2 separate regions of the Homo sapiens genome follow, and region 2 is linked to region 1. Evidence: promoter capture Hi-C in human tissues and cell types (Jung and others, 2019). All regions are on one chromosome and are shown on one strand. The core of a region is centred on a gene start or on the middle of the fragment in contact, and the rest is flanking DNA. Distances in the headings are between cores, read along the strand shown.

Evidence for each region. Contacts are between HindIII fragments. The study calls those that stand out against the background at their distance.
Region 2: a contact is called between a fragment that was not itself captured here and the fragment with the promoter of SLC51B in region 1, in 1 of the 25 tissues and cell types used here (spleen).

Annotation. Positions count from the first base shown.
Region 1 is chr15:65,041,666-65,047,420 of GRCh38, reverse strand. SLC51B (SLC51 subunit beta) reads right to left here and starts at 2,034. Exons shown (of 4, transcript NM_178859.4): 1 at 1,839-2,034. It also overlaps a transcript of RASL12 not described here. The HindIII fragment of the contact is 9,148 bases long and covers 1-5,357 here.
Region 2 is chr15:65,248,678-65,254,337 of GRCh38, reverse strand. It overlaps a transcript of PARP16 not described here. Among named protein-coding and RNA genes, the nearest start is that of SNORA24B, 34 kb to the left of the region's middle. RefSeq lists an enhancer at 378-878. The HindIII fragment of the contact is 7,861 bases long and covers 1-5,660 here.

The DNA of each region.
Region 1 (5,755 bases), core at 785-3,284:
AACAATACATGTAATTCCATTTTTAATGTGTGTATATATTTCTATGTATATTTTGTCTATTTGTATGTATGTTTTTTTTTTTTTGAGATGGAGTTTTGTTTTTGCTGCCCAGGCTGGAGTGCAATGGTGTGATCTCGGCTCACTGCAACCACCGCCTCCCAGGTTCAAGAAATTCTCTTGCCTCAGCCTCCTGAGTAGCTGGGACTACAGGCATGTGCCACCACACCTGGCTAATTTTTGTATTTTTAGTAGAGATGGGATTTCACCATGTTTGCCAGGTTGGTGATCCGCCTACCTCAGCCTCCCAAAGTGCTGGGATTACAGGTGTGAGCCACTGCACCCAGCCTTTGTATGCATTTTTAAATGTAGGTATTATTGTACTTATACCTTTTGAGACAACAATTCCAATTTTTGATATTTAATTAATGGAACTAATCAGATCAGTGTACAAAGACGCAGGTAAGCTATTGTCCACAGTGGAGTGGTGTTTTTTTGTTTTTTGTTTTTTGAGACAGAGTCTGGCTCTGTCACCCAGGCTGGAGTGCAATGGCACCATCTTGGCTCACTGCAACCTCCATCTCCCGGGCACAGGCGATCCTCTCACCTCAGCCTCCTGAGCAGCTGGTACAACAGGCATGTGCCACCACGCCCGGCTAATTTTTGTATTTTTTGTAGCGATGGGGTTTCATCATCTTGCCCAGGCCAGCCTTGAACTTCTGAGTTCAAGCGACCTGCCCACCTTGTCCTCCCAAAATGCTGGGATTACAGGCATGAGCCACCGCGCCTGGCCAAAATATGTTTAAAATATGTTTAATATTGTTACAGTAAACACATACCAACCAACAAAAAACCAAAATGACAAATTGGATACAAATCCAGAACCGAGAGTCAGCCCTCCTCAGCTATGTTAGATGCCACAGAAACAAGCGACATATTTCTTTCTTTTTTTTGAGACAGAGTTTCACTCTTTTTGCCCAGGCTGGAGTGCAATGGCATGATCTCAGCTCACTGCAACCTCCACCTCCCAGGTTCAAGTGATTCTCCTGCCTCAGCCTCCCAAGTAGCTGTGATTATAGGCATCCACCACCATGCCCAGCTAATTTTGTATTTATTTATTTAGAGACAGAGTTTCACTCTTGTTGCCCAGGCTGGAGTGTAGTGGCACCATCTCAGCTCACTGCAACCTCCGCCTCCCGAGTTCAAGTGATCCTCCTGCCTCAGCTTCCTGAGTAGCTGGGATTATAGGTGCCCGCCACCACATCCAGCTAATTTTTGTATTATTAGTAGAGACAGCATTTCACCACATTGGCCAGGCTGGTCTCGGAACTCCTGACCTGAGGTGATCCATCTGCCTCGGCCTCCCAAAGTGCTGGGATTACAGGCATGAGCCACCGCACCCGGCCAATTTTGTATTTTTAGTAGAGATGGGGTTTCACCACGTTAGCCGGGGTGGTCTCGAACTCCTGACCTCAGGTGATCGGCCTGCCTCGGCCTCCAAAAGTGCTGGAATTACAGGCGTGAGCCACTGCGCCCGGCCAAAGACATATTTCTATCAAAGCACGTATCCAGTTTGCTTCTAAAGTGAGCATCATATTGTCATTTGCATGATTAAATTAAACTTTATGCCTTATTTGCATTTTGTTAGTTTTGCCTTTAATGTTCTTTTCTTGTTCCAGGATCCCATTTAGGATGTCATACTGCATTTAGTTGTCTTGTCTCCTTAAGCCCCTCTGGGAGATCTCTGCATTTTAAACAGGGCTTAACCATCGTGCCATTGGACTGTGACTTCTGCCAAAGACCTGGGCCACCCATCCCCAAGGCAAGATGAGGACACTCACCCCGGATCCTGAGTTCCTGACGACTGCCTTGATCTGCTGTTGGGAGCAGCACCGATTTCTGTATCTTCCTTTTCCTCCTCTTTATGGGAGAACAGGATAGTCTTTGCACTTGAGCTCTCCCAGGCAGTAACAGCTGTCACTTAGGGGACAGTGCCTGGAGAGCCTGCGGCAGCTGGACCCATCTGGTAGCTCTGGCCTTAGCACACGCCCAGGCCTGGAGCCTTCTGTATCACTCCAGGGTGACTGACCTCTTGAATGAGTGCACTCAGAGTGCAAACAGGCTCCACCTGACTTTCACAATCCGAAAGCACCAGTAGCCCAGTGCTTTCATTGTTATGTGTTGGCCTCAAGTAAAGAGAAAACATCCGGATCCTCTGGACAGGCAGGAGAATGGACTGCAGAGGACCTGCGGTCTGTGGGTTCCATCACTGCAGGGGGATATGTAGTGTGCCCACTCCAGGTCTCTATTGCCCAATATCATCAATATTTAACCACGGAGCAGGGAGCCAGGCTGGCCTTTTACAGCCTGTGCTTTCTCATAGTGAAGGTCATGGCATGATGTGAATTCCTCACAAGGAGCTGTAAAATATGACCTTTGGAGGTGGGGGTTGGGAAAGGCTGTGTGAGCACCAGTGACCCAGAGAGTAGGAAGCAGGCCAAGGCAAGTAACTTGATGGGGAAGCAGGAATGAGGTGCTCCTCCCACCTGACCAGCACCATTCAACTCTGATAGTCTATGGACTTTTCCACCAACTGGCTCCGTGCATCTTAGGCAATCATTGTTGGTTTAGCAAGGAGTGGGCTTATGTGAAATAAGCCCACTCCTTTTTTTTTTTTTTTTTTTTTTTTGAGATGGAGTCTCGCTGTGTCACCCAGGCTGGAGAGCAGTGGCACAATCTTGGCTCACTGCAACCTCCACCTCCCCGGTTCAAGCAATTCTCCTGCCTCAGCCTCCTGAGTAGCTGGGACTACAAGTATGTGCCATCATGCCCGGCTAATTTTTTCTATTTTTAGTAGAGATGGTGTTTCACCGTGTTAGCCAGGATAGTCTTGATCTCCTGACCTCGTGATCTGCCCACCTCAGACTCCCAAAGTGCTGGGATTACAGGCATGAGCCACCACGCCCAGCCGCCCACTCTTATTTCTTACTTCACAAATGAAACAGAGGCTGAGTGAGGTCACATGTCAAGCCCAAACTCCTCTATGAGTTAAACATTAGTCAACAGTGTGTACTGTGTGTGCATGGGGCAGAGGAAAGAAGACCCAACAGGGAATCTAGGGGCTGCCTGGAACTCCAGCTCCTCCTCATTTTGTAATGCATTCATTTATTCATTGAATAAATGTTACTTGAGCATCTACTGTGTAGATACATGGTAAATAAGACAGGTGAGGGCCCTGCTCCATTGGAGCTCAAACTCCAGGGGAGATAGCCAACAAAAAAGTAAGCAAAAGCATAATTAAAAGATAATTATAGCAGTGATCATTTCTGTGAATATCTTAAACAACATAATAAGATAGAAAGGGATGAGGTGGGGGAGACATGATTACTATATTACTACACTAAAAACTGAATGATGAGGGGTTAACCATGCAAAGACCTGAAAAAGCAGGTACAAAGGCCAGGCGTGGTGGCTCATGCCTGTAATCCCAGCACTTTGGGAGGCCAAGGCAGGTGTATCACCTGAGGTCAGGAGTTCGAGACCAGCCTGACCAACAAGGTGAAACTCCGTCTCTACTAAAAATAAAAAAATTAGCCAGGTGTGGTGGCAGGCGCCTGTAGTCCCAGCTACTCAGGAGGCTGAGACAGGAGAACTGCTTGAACCCGGGAGGCGGAGGTTGCAGTGAGCTGAGATCGCACCACTGCACTCCAGCCTGGGCAACAGAGCAAGACTTCATCTCAGAAAAAAAAAGAAAAGAAAAGAAAGCAAGCAGGTACAAAGACACTGAAGAAATAATGAGCTTAATGTGTCTGGAACAAAAAGGTGGCCAATATAGCTGAATCATAGTGATGAGGGGGAAGTGGCATGGAATAAAGTCAGAGGACAGACAGGAGTATCCACTCCTCATGGTGGGCCTTGTAAAACAGGGTAAGGAGTTTGTATTTTACCCTAAAAGTGATGAGAAGCCACTGGAGGGTTTAGGCAGGAAAGTGACATAATCTAATTGACATTTGTCTAAGATCACTTGGCCTGCTGGGTGGAAAATGGATTGTAGGAGAGCAAGAGAGGAACAGGGAGACCATTGGGAGGCTGTTATATTCATCCAGGCAAAACATATTAGTAGTTTGGACCAGGCTGGTGGCAGTGGAGATGATGAGAAGTGGTCAGATTCAGGGTGCATTTTGGAGAGAAAGGTAGTTGATAGATTTCAAGAGAGAAGCTCAACACTAACTCTCTTAAACACAAAAGGAATTTATTGGCTCATAAACTAGGAAGGGCAGGGTGGAGCTGACCTGAGGCATACGGGAACCAGGGATTTGACGACCCGTAGTGCTTTGTTTCTGTGGCTCTTTCCCTGCTTTTCTCTGGGTGCCAGGCTCATTACCCCAGGCTGGCCACCTCCGGGAAGCTTGACCAGATGATAGGAAACCCAGGCTCATGCTCTCATAGCTGCAGAGGAAGTAGCTACTTTTCTTAGCTCTTGTTTAAAAATTCTTGGAAAGGACTCTAATTGTCCAGCCTGAGTCATGTACCTATGTCTTGGATCAATTGTTATGGCTAGGGAGGGGGGTACCACTGATAGCCAACTCAGAGCTCATCATGCCTGTTGGGTAGCCAGGAGAGACAGGCTGTGAGCTGGACAGCCCATGCCATGTGGGTGCCTGAAGGAACCATTTGACCTCAATCCCCCTTGTCTGCCTCTGAGGAGTGTTGTGGTGCTCTAATGGGATGGTGTCCCCTTAACAAGGAGCCTGCACAATCCCAGGTTTTCCACTCTTCTGCTTCTGTGTCTTTTCTCTCCCTCCTCTTACCCTAGCTCTTTCTACTACGGCCTATCCAATAACTTGTTCCATGGTTGCCATGTGCCAGGCATTATGCCAGTGATAAACAGTCGAAAGGATTGTCCCTGCCCTCATGGAGACTCCAGTCTAGCAGAACAGACAGACGGGTGTTCATCATGTCATCACAACTTCTGTGTGACAAGTGCCATGAAGGAAACGTACACATGGAGATGAGAGCACATCACCAAGCCCTCCTTTCCTCACAGCATCACTATCATTCCTGGCCAATCAATCCCACCTTGAAATCTCCTCTCCTGACTTCTCCAGTCTCTTATCTCCCTACCTAGAGGATGATAGACAGTCAGCAGTGTAGTGGAGTGGAAAGGGCTTTTGGTTTTCCTCTGCTATTCTGGTATCTGCCACCTGCTAACCCTTCAAGCCTCAGCTTAAATGTCATCTTCTTAGGGAGGCCTTCCATATCAGTTGAGAATTGTGTTTGGCTCTGGGTAACAAAGACCCAATGTCAGTGGTTTAAACCATAAGAGTTTATTTTCTCATAGAAGAATGTCAGAAGTAGCCAGTTATTAATGTCGTAAGACCAAGGAAATCAGGGCTGAGGTTTCTAAGACTCCCTCATGGCCCCTAGATGGCTGATGCAGCTCCTGCCATTATATCCAAGTTCCAAGCAGAAAAAAAAGCAAAAGGGAAGAAGGACAAAAAGGTGTGACCATGCTCTATAGTAAACGAATAACCTATCTGAGAGTAAACTCAGATAATACAGAGAACTAAGGTCAAGGGAGTTATTCCCAGAAAACAGTAGCAAGGGCAGCCAGGTGGGCTAACCAAAGAACTTACTCTACTGCCAGGGTGGAGGTCTTCACAGCTCATGCCCAGCAGGATTTGATAACTGTCATGGGCCTGTGCTGCTGTGTGGACTGTAGCACAGCCTGCTAATTTCCCCCTAGATTACATTCTTC
Region 2 (5,660 bases), core at 790-3,289, 210 kb before region 1:
CCAAAACAAATCATGACATTCCCAAGTAAAGATAGAAACCACCGTCTCCACCCACTCTGGCTGGTGCCCTTGTCCACCTGGAAAGGGTTTTTCAAAAATTTCCAGCGTTCTGCTGTAGTGTCCATATACTGCAGCCCTGAAAAGGGAAAGCAGCATTTATTGAATACTTTATATCAGCCACGGGGCTAGACTTTGCTTGTGTTAAAAATCTGGAAATTAGGCCAGGCGCGGTGGTTCACGGCTATAATCTCAGCACTTTTGGAAGGCTGAGGCGGGCAGATCACCTGACGTCAGGAGATCAAGACCATCCTGGCCAACATGGTGAAACCCCTTCTCTACTAAAAATACAAAAATTAGCCGGGTGTGGTGGTGTGCGCCTGTAGTCCCAGCTACTCAGGAGGCTGAGGCAGGAGAATCGGTTGAACCTGGGAGGCAGAGGTTGCAGTAAGCTGAGATCGTGCCACTGCACTCCAGCCTGGTGACAGAGAGAGACCCCATCTCAAAAAAAACAAATCTGGTTTCCTGCATTAAAATTCAACTGCAAGCTCCTTGAGGACAGGGACTAGGCAGTCTTTGTATATCCAAGTATCTAAGATATGGTAGGTGCTGGAGAAGAGTTTATTGAGTGAATAAAGGGGTGCAAAGATACAAGAAACTTCCCTATCACAGTAGAGGGTAATGATTGAATGTTAGCAAAAAGAGAATGAAGGCCGGGCGCGGTGGCTCACGCCTGTAATCCCAGCACTTTGGGAGGCCGAGGCGGGCGGATCACGAGGTCAGGAGATCGAGACCATCCCGGCTAAAACAGTGAAACCCCGTCTCTACTAAAAATACAAAAAATTAGCCGGGCGTAGTGGCGGGCGCCTGTAGTCCCAGCTACTTGGGAGGCTGAGGCAGGAGAATGGCGTGAACCCGGGAGGCGGAGCTTGCAGTGAGCCGAGATCCCGCCACTGCACTCCAGCCTGGGCGACAGAGCGAGACTCCGTCTCAAAAAAAAAAAAGAGAATGAAATTAGACGAGAAAAAAAATGCATTGACAAGACATTGTGGATGAGTGGGGGTTTCAAAGAAGGTTGTGGACATTTGTTGCTTGAATTCAGGGAGTCCCATTTGCGATGTCACCAGAAATACCTTTTGAGGTTAGTGGGGTGGAAAGGACAGTGTCTTGCATTGTTTTTTTTGTTTGTTTTGTTTTTTTTTTTTTTGAGACGGAGTTTCACTCTTGTCTCCCAGGCTGAGGTGCAGTGGTGCAATCTCGGCTCACCGCTACTACATCCACCTCCCAGGTTCAAGTGATTCTCCTACCTCAGCCTCCCAAGTAGCTGGGATTACAGGCATGTGCCACCATGTCCAGCTAATATTTTTGTATTAGTAGTAGAGACAGGTTTCACCATGTTGGCCAGGCTGGTCTCAAACTCCTGACCTCAGGTGATCTGCCCACCTTGACCTCCCAAAGTGCTGGGATTACAGGTGTGAGCCACCACGCCCAGCCGCCTTGCATTTTATTTAAAGTGCAGATGATCCTGAGAGAGGCTAAACTGTTGACTTGAAGCTTATTCATACACATGTGCAAATGACTGATAACAAAGCCTCCCTAAGAGCAGGTTTTAGTAATGAGTTAGGAGAGGGTGGCGAAAGAGAAATCACTAGGGATTCAAGGGCAGGAGGAGCTTTGACCATGTCAAGGGGTGGGGCCGCTGGAATCAAACTTTGCTCTAACCCCATTTGGCCAAAGGAGGACCCCAGTGAAAACAGCATGTGGTGCTGCCAGGCTTTCTAGCCATTGCTGGTGACATTGGTTAGTTTAGTCAAACTGTCCACTGGTGGGTCAGAAAGGCCAGTCTCAATTTATTGGAAGCATGGATCGCAGGCTGCTTTAAAGATGCAGTTTTATTCTTGAGCAAGTGCAGGCTATCCCAAATGAGCCCATAATATATTGCCTATCAGAGGTCTGTAGGGATTTAAAACTAGCACATCAATTATATTTTTAAAGGGCTAGAAAAGTATTTGTCCTCTTAGTTCTTTGGCCATCGATTTCCTTTGGATAAGTCCATCTGTTGTTCTTGTCACCCAGGGTTCATTCACCTTCCTGGTACCATACCTCAACTTCCTCTCTGGGGAACCAACTCCCTTTCCCACTCTCATTGGTCTTGGGAAGCTGACTGACTGCCCCCTCCACTCACACACTCTACAAGTAGAGCATTGACTCAGGCCCAAGCCAATTAGTGAGTTGCCTTCTCCCAGCCTCAGTGATTGCTTCAAACCTAGGCATGTGGGCCGGGTGCAGTGGCTTACACCTGTAATCCCAGCACTTTGGGAGGCCGAGGCGGGTGGATCACGAGGTCAGGAGATCGAGACCATCCTGGCTAACACGGTGAAACCCCGTCTCTACTAAAAATACAAAAAATTAGCCGGGCGGGGTGGTGGGCGCCTGTAGTCCCAGCTACTCGGGAGGCTGAGGCAGGAGAATGGCATGAATCCGGGAGGTGGAGCTTGCAGTGAGCTGAGATCATGCCACTGCACTCCAGCCTGGGCGACAGAGCGAGATTCCATCTCAAAAAAGCAAACAAACGAACAAAAAAAAAACCTAGGCATGTGACCCAACTAGTATCTCATCAAAATGAGCCACGAGTTTTGAGATAATAGTATCTCATTTTGATATAATAATAGTATCTCATATCTTTTGATGAGATAATAGTATCTCATCAAAATGAACCATAAGTTTTGCTGGGGATCCTGGGAAAGAGACTTGCATTTTCAGTGGTCCTGAATGTGAGAGGCTGCCATCTGGCTGCCATGCAAAGTCTCAGACTGATGCCAACACAGTGGAAAGCAGAGCTGCTGTCCTGATGACGTTGTTTTGAGTACTGAATCCAGTTGTGCTTGAAGCCAGACTTTTCACTTAGGTGACCAATAAATACATTCCTTTTTATTTAACAGAGTAAGTTGGGTCTTAACGGGGAATAAACGTGGGTAGATCTTAACTGATAGCCTTTGCCATCCTGGAGCATCATTATTTTTAATGTAAATCCTTTGTTAACTATAGAAAGGTGTGAATTCCAAACTAGTGAGTCTGGATTGATGAAGTTTGACTGTCCTGACCCTTGGACTATCCCCACAAGGCACTCAAACCTGTGCAAAATAAGAGATGGGAGGCAGGGGCATGGTGACTCATGCCTGTAATCCCAGCACTTTGGGAGGCTGAAGCCTGCAGATCACTTGAAGTCAGGAGTTTGAGACCAGCCTGGCCAACATGGTGAAACCCCGTCTCTACTAAAAATACAAAAATTAACTGGGCATGGTGGTGCACGCCTGTAATCCCAGCTACTCGGGAGGCTGAGGCACGAGAATCGCTTGGACCTGGGAGGCAAAGGTTGTAGCGAGGCGGAGGTTGAGTGAGCCAAGATCGCACCACTGCACTCCAGCCTGGGCAGCAGAGTGAGACTCCGTCTCTAAATAAATAAATAAGAGATGGGAAAAACACACACACGCGCGCCACTGTGTTTTGGGGCCTTCTGCAGCCTCAGTCTCAAGGGGCCTCCTTCGGTCAGCTTGGACTGGCTTCTGGCCTCAGAAACCTCAGGGCCCATCAAAGTCCGGAAGCAGCAATGGGTAGGTCTGACCAGGGCTGTGGCTGTAAACTACACTGGAGGAGCCTGGCCCTCAGGAAGACCAGAGATGCAGTCTGCAGCAGTAGGAGAAGGGAGGAAGGAAAAGGATGCTACCGTGTATCAAGTGCCTCCTGCATGATGTGCATATTAAAAGAATTATCTCATTTAATCTTCACAGTATCCCTGCAAGGCAGATACTATTCTGTTTATTTTACAGAAGAAACAGGTTTGGAGATGACTTGTGCAAGGTTAAAAGGCCAGAAAGAGGCAGAACCAGGGCTGACTCTAAAGGAATAAGAAAGGCAGGCATGGCCAGGCACAGTGGCTCACGCCTGTAATCCCAGCACTTTGGGAGGCTGAGGTGGGCAGATCACTTGAGGTCAGGAGTTCGAGACCAGCCTGGCCAACATGGTGAAACCCCGTCTGTACTAAAAACACAAAAATCAGCTGGGCATGGTGGCGCGCGCCTGTAATCCCAGCTACTGGGCAGGCTGAGACAGGAGAATCGCTTGAACCTGGGAGGCGGGGGTTGCAGTGAGCTGAGGTCGCACCATTGCACTCCAGCCTGGATAACAGAGAGAGACTCTGTCTCAAAAAAAAAAAAAAAAAAAAAAAAAAAAGGCAAGCAGGTGCAAGGCTGCAGCTAGAGGGGCTGTCTGAGCAAAGAAGACCTAGGCTGGTGGCATAGGAAGACAAGAGTGCCGACACCAGGCCCAGTGAATAGAAAACGAGTTCCCTTTCCAGACTGGGGTTGTGAGCTCTGCTCTGTTTTATGAGCAGAAGGCACCTGCAATGTCAGAAGTGGAAACCATGGGAAGTCCCCCAACACCCACTCAATCAGAGCTCTGAGCTCATCTCCTGTAACCTTCCCAGCCCCATCATTGCAGACCCAGGAGGTGAGCCCAGAGGCACACATGGCACTGAATGTGGGGCAGGAAGGGGATGGCCCCTCCCTTCCACCCCCACTGCCTGCTCAAGCTATCAGCCTGCTCTGATTAAGTTGAAATTTTTGAGACCTTGCATCCAGGGGCTGCTGGCAGCCAAATCCCCCTGATTGCCTGAGATGTTCCTCACATCAGAGAACAAACAGTCACCCCTTTCTGGCCAGCTGGGCTCAGCAGCATTCCTGTCTCCAGTCCTGCCTGGCTGGGTGGGGCTGCAGCCCTTCGTCCACCTCCAGCAGAGGCCTGGAGGATCTGGTGAGTGGGTACAAGGGAGAAGGAAGGTAGCTGTCTGTCTCCAGGTTGAACGAGACATTTCTCCTGAGTCCCCATTTTGCCCCAGCACTGGGCACCTCAGCCTCAAGCCACTCCAGGCACAAGTCCTGTGTTTGTAATATGACTGTCACTTAAGAGGAGGCCCCCACTGGGCCACTGTCCCTGGGGTGGGAGCCCCTTCACCCCCGCCCAGGGGCTGCCTGGGGAATTAGATTCCCACACCATTCCAGCTAGATCTGAAGTCGTCACACTCAAATGGCTCATTTTACAAAAGTGGACACAGTCCACAGAGTTGAGACAGAAGCAGGACTAGAACACTGGCCTTTAATTCCCACAGCCTTGAGATGCTGTGGTTTGGATGACGCTAGGGGCTCTGAGCAAGAGGAGCTGCCCATGTTTTTGCAGAGAAGCAGGAGTGTTTTCGTCCCCTAGGCCTGTTTTGAAGATCAGGCTGGTGGCTGAGCGGTTTCCTAAGGAAGCAAGGCTTCTGGAAAAGCGCTATTCACTAGATGCTCCTAAATCATCTAGTTGGCAATAGAGCTGGGGCAGTGGAACCTGAGTGTGCTCTGCCACCATCCAGCGTCCAGCCTGGCCTTAGTCAGGCTTTGGGAGGCAACTGGGGACCAAGGGCAGAGTCCTTGGGAAGGCATAGCTCCCCACAACGTATAACATCTGCTTCCCTAACCTAGGACTCTGGCCTGGGTCTGTGGGGGAGGAGGAAGAGCCGGCTTTTTCAGCCAGTCTGCAAAAGGAATTCTAGGAACCCCCTCTGGCCGCAGACAGGAGGGGGAAGGAGGCAGACAGTGTGGGATCCAGGGGCAGTCCAGGAGTCT